Linked DNA regions of Homo sapiens: all the other regions are linked to region 1. The links are contacts of gene promoters, found by promoter capture Hi-C in blood cells and fetal thymus (Javierre and others, 2016). All regions are on one chromosome and are shown on one strand. Each heading gives the region's core, a stretch centred on a gene start or on the middle of the fragment in contact. The rest is flanking DNA. Distances are from core to core; before and after follow the strand shown. Region 1 holds the start of NUP58 (nucleoporin 58). Region 2 holds the start of HSPH1 (heat shock protein family H (Hsp110) member 1). Region 3 holds the start of ZAR1L (zygote arrest 1 like).

Region 1 (3,116 bases), core at 371-2,870:
GTAAAATATAAATTAAATTTAAAAAACAAAATAAAATGTACGTTTCTTTTTAATTATACAAACACAGAGGTGGTGTATTAGTCTGCTTGGCTGATACAACAAAATACCATAGACTGAGGTGGCTATAACAACAGACATTTACTTCTCTCAATTCTGGAGGCTAAGTCCCAGATAAAGATGGGGCAGTTTGGGTTCCAGGTGAAAGCCCCTTCTTGCTCTGTCCTCACATGGCACACAGAGGAGAACAAGCTCTTCGTTGTTTTTTCTCATAAGGGCACTAATCTCGCCATGGGCGACCCACCAAGGTGACCTCATCTAAATTGAATTACCTCCCAAAGGCTCCATCTCCAAATACCAACATATTGGGGTGGGGTAGGGCTTTAACATATGGATTGGGGGAGGAGGGAAATAGTTCAGTCCACAGCTGGTGGCAATGCCCAAGCTCAACGGAAGATTAAAGTACTGAATTAGGGAGAACTGTGAGATGAGGTTAGAAAGACTAATCATACGGAGGTCATCAAGTGCCAAACTAAAGAGCCACTGGGCTTTTTAGATCATAAATCCGGGGGTTGCTTATGGGATGGATTTTGTTAGAGATCACGAGTAGGAAAACCATTTGGGGGAGTAATGTAACAATCCCTGAGGGAAAAATAAAAACTAACACTATGATGACAACCCTCGAATGCACCACCACCAGGAAGCCTTTCCTGATGCTTCGCCAGAGAGGTTCTCTTTAAACGCGAATTTTTCTTGAGTTATCCTAGAAATGTAAGTTACACCTCACATTTCGCCTTCTTTCGTACATGTTCCTGTGCGTTTCCTAATCCTTCCACTTTGTAGTTCCTCCAGCACCGGTTGTGTCCGAGGGCCCTTCTGGCGGAGCCACACTCGCTCGGCCCAAGGTCCCGCCCTCCAGCATCAGGATGCACGGACAGTATTTGTGGACTTGACCGCATCCCAGGAAATCCAGCGGGCCTGGCCACTTCTGGGCGCCAGGACCACAGCCGGCCACCCCACGGACGCCTGGGACGCTCTTCTGGGCCCCCTTCGGGGCTGGGCGTCGGGCTCGCAACAACTGCGACCAACTGGCTCCGCGAGGCCTGGGGCGCAGGGGTGGGGCTCACGTCGTGGGACGGTTGCATGGATTATTTTCGATTGATTTCCGAACCTTCAGGAAGCAGACACGCTCCCCTTCCTTCTTAGGGATGGGGCGGCAGCCAACGAAAGCCCGAAGCCGCCTCCTTTTCTGAGTGGGGAGCTTAGAGATGCTCAGGAGGGACCTCCCCGATTCTGCGATTCTGAGCATCAATTTTGGCAGGAGGCTAGATAGAAGTAGCAATTGACATTCATCACCCTAAAGTGCGGATTATGTCAGTACAGATGCTACGATAGAAGAACTAAAAAATGACAGAAATGGTTTTACTGTTTTTAAACTCTGGGAGCCTACTCCTTTAAGAGATTAGGCAGTACGCCTATTCTCGCCTGGTCCCAGCGTACCTTGCGCGGCTCGCCGTCCCCCACTCACGTACCAGGGCTCATTGCGTGACGGTTACACTTCCGGCGGGCTACGTGCGCGCGGCGAGCGCCGGGCGTACTTTTGCGTGGTTGCTCCACCCCCTCAGCCTTGCCTTCGCCGCCGTTGGGGCTGGAAGTTCCCGCCAGGTCCGTGCCGGGCGAGAGAGATGCTGCCCGGCCCGCCTCGGCTTTGAGGCGAGAGAAGTGTCCCAGACCCATTTCGCCTTGCTGACGGCGTCGAGCCCTGGCCAGACATGTCCACAGGGTTCTCCTTCGGGTCCGGGACTCTGGGCTCCACCACCGTGGCCGCCGGCGGGACCAGCACAGGCGGCGTTTTCTCCTTCGGAACGGGAGCGTCTAGGTAACCGCACTTTCTCGCCTTCCTGGGCCGGATTCACCCCCACCCCCACCCCCGCAAAGCTCCCTTGGTGTCCCCATCCTGTCTCTTCCCTCTGGCTTCCTTCCCAGTGGGGCTGGAGAGAAGCACTTAATCTAGCCGCCCGGCGTCGTAGGCCTCTCGCCGCGGTACCCGGGCCCAGCGCGGCCTGGTGAAGTGGAGGGCGGGATGGGTTCTGTGCTGTGAGGTTTCCAGAATCCACGTATAGTTCAGGCATTATTTGGACCTAGTGGGGTCTTGACTGCGTGGAAGGGCCTTGGGGTCTACCCCGGAGCTTTAGCGATGTGTCAGTCTTAGGCATAGAATGAACATTGAATGAATGAATGAAATTATAGCATACTGTGGAGTTTTATGATAGATAATTCCGATTTCATTGCAGCATTTGCGGTTTTGGATATGACGGTGTTTTAATAACTTTGTGGTTTTTAACCAGCTTTTCAAGCTTTTGTGCCACATGGGACCTTATCTGTTTTTGTTAAAAAAAACAAAAACACTTTTTTACAGTGTTTATTAGTGGTAATTTTCTGCAGTATGTGCAGATTAGTATATCTGATGCGAGAATGTTGTGTTGTAATAACTCAATTTGTCTTTTACTTAAATTACAAAACGTAGGTAGCATGTTCCTTGTTTTTGTGCAACCCATTAGTTCAGGTGGCGACAAAAACATAACTATCCAGAAAGAAACAAAGTGGTGAGACATTTTAATGAGAGATTTAAGCTTTAGAACTCAATTTTTTTTAAGATAAAGGTGGAGGGGTTCATAAAGTTAAGGAGTGTGCACACTGTCAACAAGATACTTCCTGAAGCTTAAAAGATGTGGCTGTAGATTTAAAAGGCAAATACTTAAGCATGACCTGCAGTTTAAAAAGGGAGGGAGGAGGAACCACGGACTACACAGTCAATTCAGAAATTTGAATTTTCATCCATACCTCCGTTATTCTTACTCTACTCGCTCAACAACAGGTTCTGATAATGTTACTTCTGCCATTTCTGTTTGTCTTTATTTCCAGTTCCACAACCCTGCTTAGGCTATTGTCATTCGTGGAACAAATATTTATTGGACAGATTCCCATGTGCAAGGCTCTGTTTTAGGTATTAAGAGTCTTGCTCTCTTGATCCTTACATTCTTATGAAAATAATTTTGATTCTTGTCAGATTTTTAACCAGCTGTCTTTCTTGTTTTAGATGAAAACTACTCCAATCA
Region 2 (2,780 bases), core at 41-2,540, 5.9 Mb after region 1:
TGTTGCCCTTTGCCCACCCTATGCTCCTATAGAATATTTAGTTCAGTGACGACATCCATCCTCTTTTGGCGTCCTAGCACAAAAGTATGCAATTTTTATTCTCTTTTAAATAAACTGTGCAAAATTAATTTTAAAAATACGGTTTACAATTCCTCATGAATGGCAAAGAGCAAAAAAAAAGACGTTTACATCTTTCGACAATGATCCCGGGCATTAAGGCCAACAATGTTAGCAACGAAGAGACTGGGTAAAAAGAGGTGGGCTAATCTTTCATAGGACTGCTTCCGTGGTCGCTAACAACAATCCGCCTGCTCACTGGACAAGCAGCGACACAAGCTCTGGAAGCTTCCAGTTCATTTCGAGATTCACAATGCGGAAGAAAAAGGCCGGCAGCCCCGCTCCGCGGTGCGCAAAGATATGCGCGAAGGGAGGAGGACAAGCTGGAGGCGGCTCAGCCAGCTCAGAGAGGCCGGGTGGGGATACGGGGGCGGCCGCGGAAGGCGCAGGCTGCAGCCTGCCAAGAAAAGGGAGCGAAGTTGCGGGCTTTGCCGCAGCCCGACCCCCAGTAGGTTTTGAAAACCCCCAATAGGAAGCCCGCACAAGGTGACGACCCTTAGAGTCTCGACTCTGGGACTCCTCTCACCCCCGTGAATCCCTGAGACAATCCCTTCTCCAATTTGTGATGGCAAGCCCCCCATCCCTCCTCTGGCCGGGTCGCTGGTCCCTAGTTCCACGGAGGGGTGCGCCGCTGCCCAAACGCCTCCGTTTGCCGCGGTGATCCGTACAGCCAGCCCGCGATCTTGGGTCCCCACACTAAGGGCCCAGAACCTCCTCCCATCCACCCTCGCAGACTCCCACTTACGGGGTGCACCGGTCGCTGAACTCATTGGCGATGGTCTCGATGCCCCCGGCCCGGGCTACCGCGATGTAGCAGCTCTGCGAGCCCACGTCCAACCCCACCACCGACATGGCCGGCTCGCGGTCCGCCTCCGCCTCGGGTCTCGGTCTGCGTCCTCCGGCCCCCTGCCTGCTTCTCCTGCCGCCGCTTTCTGCCCTGGCCGCGTTCTGCTCCGGCCCGCGGGGTCTGGCCGTTCCTCTGACACTCAGAAGGACACACAGACAGCCGCGGCCTGTCAGGAGCCTCCTACTCCCCCGGGGACAGCGGCGGCTGGCTGATAAGAAACCCTGGGAGAAAGCGGGGCTCAGCCTCCGCAGGTCGCTCCGCACCTCGGGTTGCCTGCCTCACTCTGCCGCGGCTCGCACACCGGCGCCGGCGCTGAACTACCGACCCAAAAGGGGAGGTCCCACTTCCTCAGCCTTATGTATCGCACTGATCAGAACTTTCCAGAATCTGCGGCATTTACTCACCGGCGCCTCCACCGGCCCCTCCACGTGCCACTTCCGCTTCCTTCTTCTCGAGCCTTCTGGAAAGATTCTACCCAATGGGCAGCCGGTCCCCGGAGAACGGCCGCCGTTGCCATGGCAGCGACAGGGCCGCTCCCGTGCCATTGGCTCAAACCTGCCTCCGCCCACTCCCGCCCTAGCCACAGGCGTTTTGCTGCCCTAATAAAACAGGCAACGAAGAATGACTCCAAAACTCGGAATAGTCACAATTTACTACCGGGAGGTGGTGTCCGATCCTTAACGCTAAAGGGAGGCTGGGCGGGCGGAGACAGACCCCATTTTTGCAGAGACCCCAGACACCGGGATGGTGGGGAGGCCGGCCAGCTGTCCGGAGAGCATGTTGGGAATCGTAGTCCCGCTGGGAGAAGTGTGCGCCTTGCATGCTGGGATGTGTAGTCCTGGCCGCAGTGCTTGCTGGGACCCGGCTTTGTCTTCTGGGACTCGCGAGAGAGGCTGGGTAGGGTTTTGTCTGGCGCTTTTGCGCGGGTTCCCTGGCAATAAGCGTCATTTTGTTCGTTTGTTTTGTATTCACTTCTATTATTGTCTGGATTACCCCGACAACTGGTGCGTTACGACTTAGGAGAAGGAACACCAGTTCAAACCGCTTATAATAAAAGCAAAGGGGTTGTGTTAAGTGTTCTTGTATTCATCAGGCAGCAGGATGATCTCTTGTGGAGTAAAATGTCAGGTGTTTTTTTTTTTAAGAAATCGATTTTTAGTTGTGACGTCATTTGGCAGGCTGTCCACGGTATCACTTTCTGCTTATTTTTAAAAGGTCTGATTTAAGCCGACGCTGTTCTACCCTGCCACTCCTAGCCATAAATTGGTACTGTGTGTAAGTTTTGCTTTTTGTTTGATCTGAAGCAGCTTTTGTTTCTTTCCCTCAGAAGCGATGTCCCCGTTAACTTTTGTTCAGTAAAGAGACAGTGTAAGAAAAGGTGGAACTGTGTTGCTGATAACTTATCAGGTCTTTTATACCCTTTTGTGTCTTTTTAAGTTTGCTTCTGATCCCTGAGTTTACCTTATGTCAGGCATGTGGAAGTATAAGCACAGTTCAAATATGTTATTGGATAAGCGTGTAATTGAATAAGGAGTTGTAACCTAAAGTTAGAAAAATCTAACTCATAAAGAGTATGGGAATTCCTCCTTGTCTATCAAAACAAGTTGGTTAAGTCAGAGGCAAGACGAAAGGCCCAGGTTTACATTACATGTAAATTGTATGTGCTTTTGCTAGTTTTCCTGCCACTTAGGTGGCTTACTTAACATGCTTCAGTTAACTCACCTTTAAAATGGGAGCAATAATAGTTATCACGGGGTTGTTGTGTTCTTACATTTGGACATATAGTTAGCTGTAACTATAAGTTATTTTTGTTATG
Region 3 (3,011 bases), core at 512-3,011, 7.0 Mb after region 1:
AAAAAACAGGAGATCCTGCCATTTGCAACAACATGGGTGAAACTGGGGAACATTATGCTAAGTGAAATAAGCCAGATAGAAAAATACTGCATAAACTCACTGATATGTGGAATCTGAAAAAGTCAAATACATAGAAGCAGAAAGTAGAATGGTGGTTACCAGGGACAGGAAGTTGGGGGGAATGGAGAGAGACTGGTCAGAGCCTAAAATGTTACAGTTAGGTAGAATGAATGAGTCTAGAGATCTAATTTACAGCATAACGACTACAGTTAACAATACTGTATTTTATACTGAAAAGTTTCAAAGAGAAATTTCAGGTGCTCTCACCGCACACAAAAGAAAGGTAATTATGTGAACAGATGGATATGTTAATTGCTTGACTATAGTAATCATCTCACTGTGTACATATACATGTTGTGCACATTAAATATATACAACTTTTAGGAAATAATGGTTTTTTGGGTTTTTGTTTGTTTGCTTGTTTGAAATGGAGTTTCCTTGCTCTGTCTCCCAGGCAGGAGTGCAGTGGCATGATTTCGGCTCACTGCAACTTCCGCCTCTGGGGTTCAAGTGATTCTCCCACCTCAGCCTCCCAAGTAGCTGGGATTACAGGCACATGCCACCACACCCAGTTAATTTTTGTATTTTTAGTAGAGACAGGGTTTTGCCATGTTGGCCAGGCTGGTCTCGAACTCCTGACCTCAGGTGATCTGCCCACCTTGGCCTCCCAAAGTGCTGTGATTACAGGCGTGAGCCACCATGCCCAGCTGGAAATAATGTTTTTAAGAAAAATTAAAGCATATTGTAAATTGAATACAAATAGTAAATTGAGCAGCTGCACTAGAAGAGAATAGGTGAGAAAGTCTATTATGGTGGAGCTAATAAGTTGCAAGTCCCTGGTACAAAGAGAACAAGAAACATAAAGGTATGGGGGGCTGTATAAAATGACAGAAAATGTTATTTCTGAGACTTGTGTGACATGCCACGGGTTCTCATTAGTCCACTCCTAGTGAGACACCCCTCCCCCACAAAAAGGGGACAAAGCATATTGTTCTGATTTATAGGGTAAATAAATCACAGGTTAGTTAAGTGTATGAAGTCAAATGGACTAGAATTCAAACCTGGGCCTTACTACCAGGCACATTACTTAACTACTTGATTCAGTATCCTCATCTGACAATACTGACCAATTTACAGGATTACTGTAAGATTAAACATGGTATTGCTTGAAAACCCAAAGCAGAATGCCTAACTCATAAAATGTTTGGTAAGTGGCAGCTGTTATTAGTAAGGATCACAGACGTATTTCTTTGCGAATTAGACTTAGAGCAAAAGCTTTAGAATCTATCTGCATTAGTAAGGCCTCCTTCTACAACTAAGGATTACTGATTATCAAACTAAAATGGTCCCTAAGGAACCAAGCGGAGCCCACCCTTTTCCTAATCCAAGGTTGCTTCTGTTTACTGCTCAAGCACCTTCTGGAAGCAGCAAGGCCCCCATGGGAGCAACTCTCACTGAATCCATTTGAAGGTTTTGTAGGTCTTACAACAAACCCTATTCAGCCTTGTATTAGGCATGTTACAGAACCAACGAATTCGGAGATGAAGTCAGGTCTTCCAGTTCAGCCTGCGAGGAAGACAGGTGATCCGAATCCTAAGAATGCAAAAGATGGGCCGGGTGTGGTGGCTCATGCCTGTAATCCCAGCGCTTTGGGAGGCCGAGGCAGGCAGATCACCTGAGGTCGGGAGGTTGAGACCAGACTGACCAACAACGGAGAAACCCCGTCTCTACTTAAAAATGCAAAGTTAGCCGTGCGTGGTGGCCCATGCCTGTATTCCCAGCTACTCGGGAGGCTGAGGCAGGAGAACCACTTGATCCCTGGAGGCGGAAGTTGCGGTGAGCGGAGATTGCGCCATTGCACACCAGCCCGGGCCACAAGAGCGAAACTCCGTCTCAAAAAAAAAAGCAAAAGATACTACCAAGCCCTGCGGAGCAAGGTACCTCACACTTCATGAGCGAGTTAAGATGGGTTTCACAATTTTTCAAGCAAGGAAACGGGCTCGGAGGTCTTGAACACCTGCTACCCAATAGCAGAACAGCTACTGGAACTAAAATCCTCTGATTTCAAATAACAGCCCCGCCCACTACCACTAAGTGAAGTCATCCACAACCACACACCGACCACTCTAAGCTTTTGTAAGATCGGCTCGCTTTGGGGAACAGGTCTTGAGAGAACATCCCTTTTAAGGTCAGAACAAAGGTATTTCATAGGTCCCAGGTCGTGTCCCGAGGGCGCCCACCCAAACATGAGCTGGAGCAAAAAGAAAGGGATGGGGGACTTGGAGTAGGCATAGGGGCGGCCCCTCCAAGCAGGGTGGCCTGGGACTCTTAAGGGTCAGCGAGAAGAGAACACACACTCCAGCTCCCGCTTTATTCGGTCAGATACTGACGGTTGGGATGCCTGACAAGGAATTTCCTTTCGCCACACTGAGAAATACCCGCAGCGGCCCACCCAGGCCTGACTTCCGGGTGGTGCGTGTGCTGCGTGTCGCGTCACGGCGTCACGTGGCCAGCGCGGGCTTGTGGCGCGAGCTTCTGAAACTAGGCGGCAGAGGCGGAGCCGCTGTGGCACTGCTGCGCCTCTGCTGCGCCTCGGGTGTCTTTTGCGGCGGTGGGTCGCCGCCGGGAGAAGCGTGAGGGGACAGATTTGTGACCGGCGCGGTTTTTGTCAGCTTACTCCGGCCAAAAAAGAACTGCACCTCTGGAGCGGGTTAGTGGTGGTGGTAGTGGGTTGGGACGAGCGCGTCTTCCGCAGTCCCAGTCCAGCGTGGCGGGGGAGCGCCTCACGCCCCGGGTCGCTGCCGCGGCTTCTTGCCCTTTTGTCTCTGCCAACCCCCACCCATGCCTGAGAGAAAGGTCCTTGCCCGAAGGCAGATTTTCGCCAAGCAAATTCGAGCCCCGCCCCTTCCCTGGGTCTCCATTTCCCGCCTCCGGCCCGGCCTTTGGGCTCC

The links. Contacts are between HindIII fragments. The CHiCAGO score rates a contact against its expected background, and 5 or more counts as called.
Region 2: a contact is called between the fragment with the promoter of HSPH1 here and the fragment with the promoter of NUP58 in region 1, in 1 of 17 cell types (total B cells). The highest score is 9.3, in total B cells.
Region 3: a fragment that was not itself captured here is called in contact with the fragment with the promoter of NUP58 in region 1 in 1 of 17 cell types (total B cells); the score reaches 6.8 in total B cells.

What each region holds. Positions count from the first base shown.
Region 1 is chr13:25,300,005-25,303,120 of GRCh38, forward strand. It overlaps NUP58 (nucleoporin 58), which reads left to right and starts at 1,621. Exons shown (of 16, transcript NM_014089.4): 1 at 1,621-1,876. The coding sequence starts at 1,770. RefSeq lists enhancers at 1,277-1,516, 1,677-1,756, 1,867-1,916. The HindIII fragment of the contact is 2,784 bases long and covers 1-2,352 here.
Region 2 is chr13:31,160,614-31,163,393 of GRCh38, forward strand. HSPH1 (heat shock protein family H (Hsp110) member 1) reads right to left here and starts at 1,291. Exons shown (of 18, transcript NM_006644.4): 1 at 863-1,291. The coding sequence starts at 969. It overlaps LOC105370148 (a long non-coding RNA gene), which reads left to right and starts at 2,047. Exons shown (of 3, transcript XR_941825.3): 1 at 2,047-2,780. RefSeq lists enhancers at 385-930, 931-1,476, 1,088-1,167, 1,298-1,417, 1,648-1,917. The HindIII fragment of the contact is 12,297 bases long and covers 344-2,780 here.
Region 3 is chr13:32,312,898-32,315,908 of GRCh38, forward strand. ZAR1L (zygote arrest 1 like) reads right to left here and starts at 2,466. Exons shown (of 6, transcript NM_001136571.2): 1 at 2,418-2,466; 2 at 1,433-1,653. It overlaps BRCA2 (BRCA2 DNA repair associated), which reads left to right and starts at 2,611. Exons shown (of 27, transcript NM_000059.4): 1 at 2,611-2,770. RefSeq lists a silencer at 1,662-1,882, a cis regulatory region at 2,001-2,067, a promoter at 2,396-2,892 and an enhancer at 3,001-3,011. The HindIII fragment of the contact is 856 bases long and covers 1,334-2,189 here.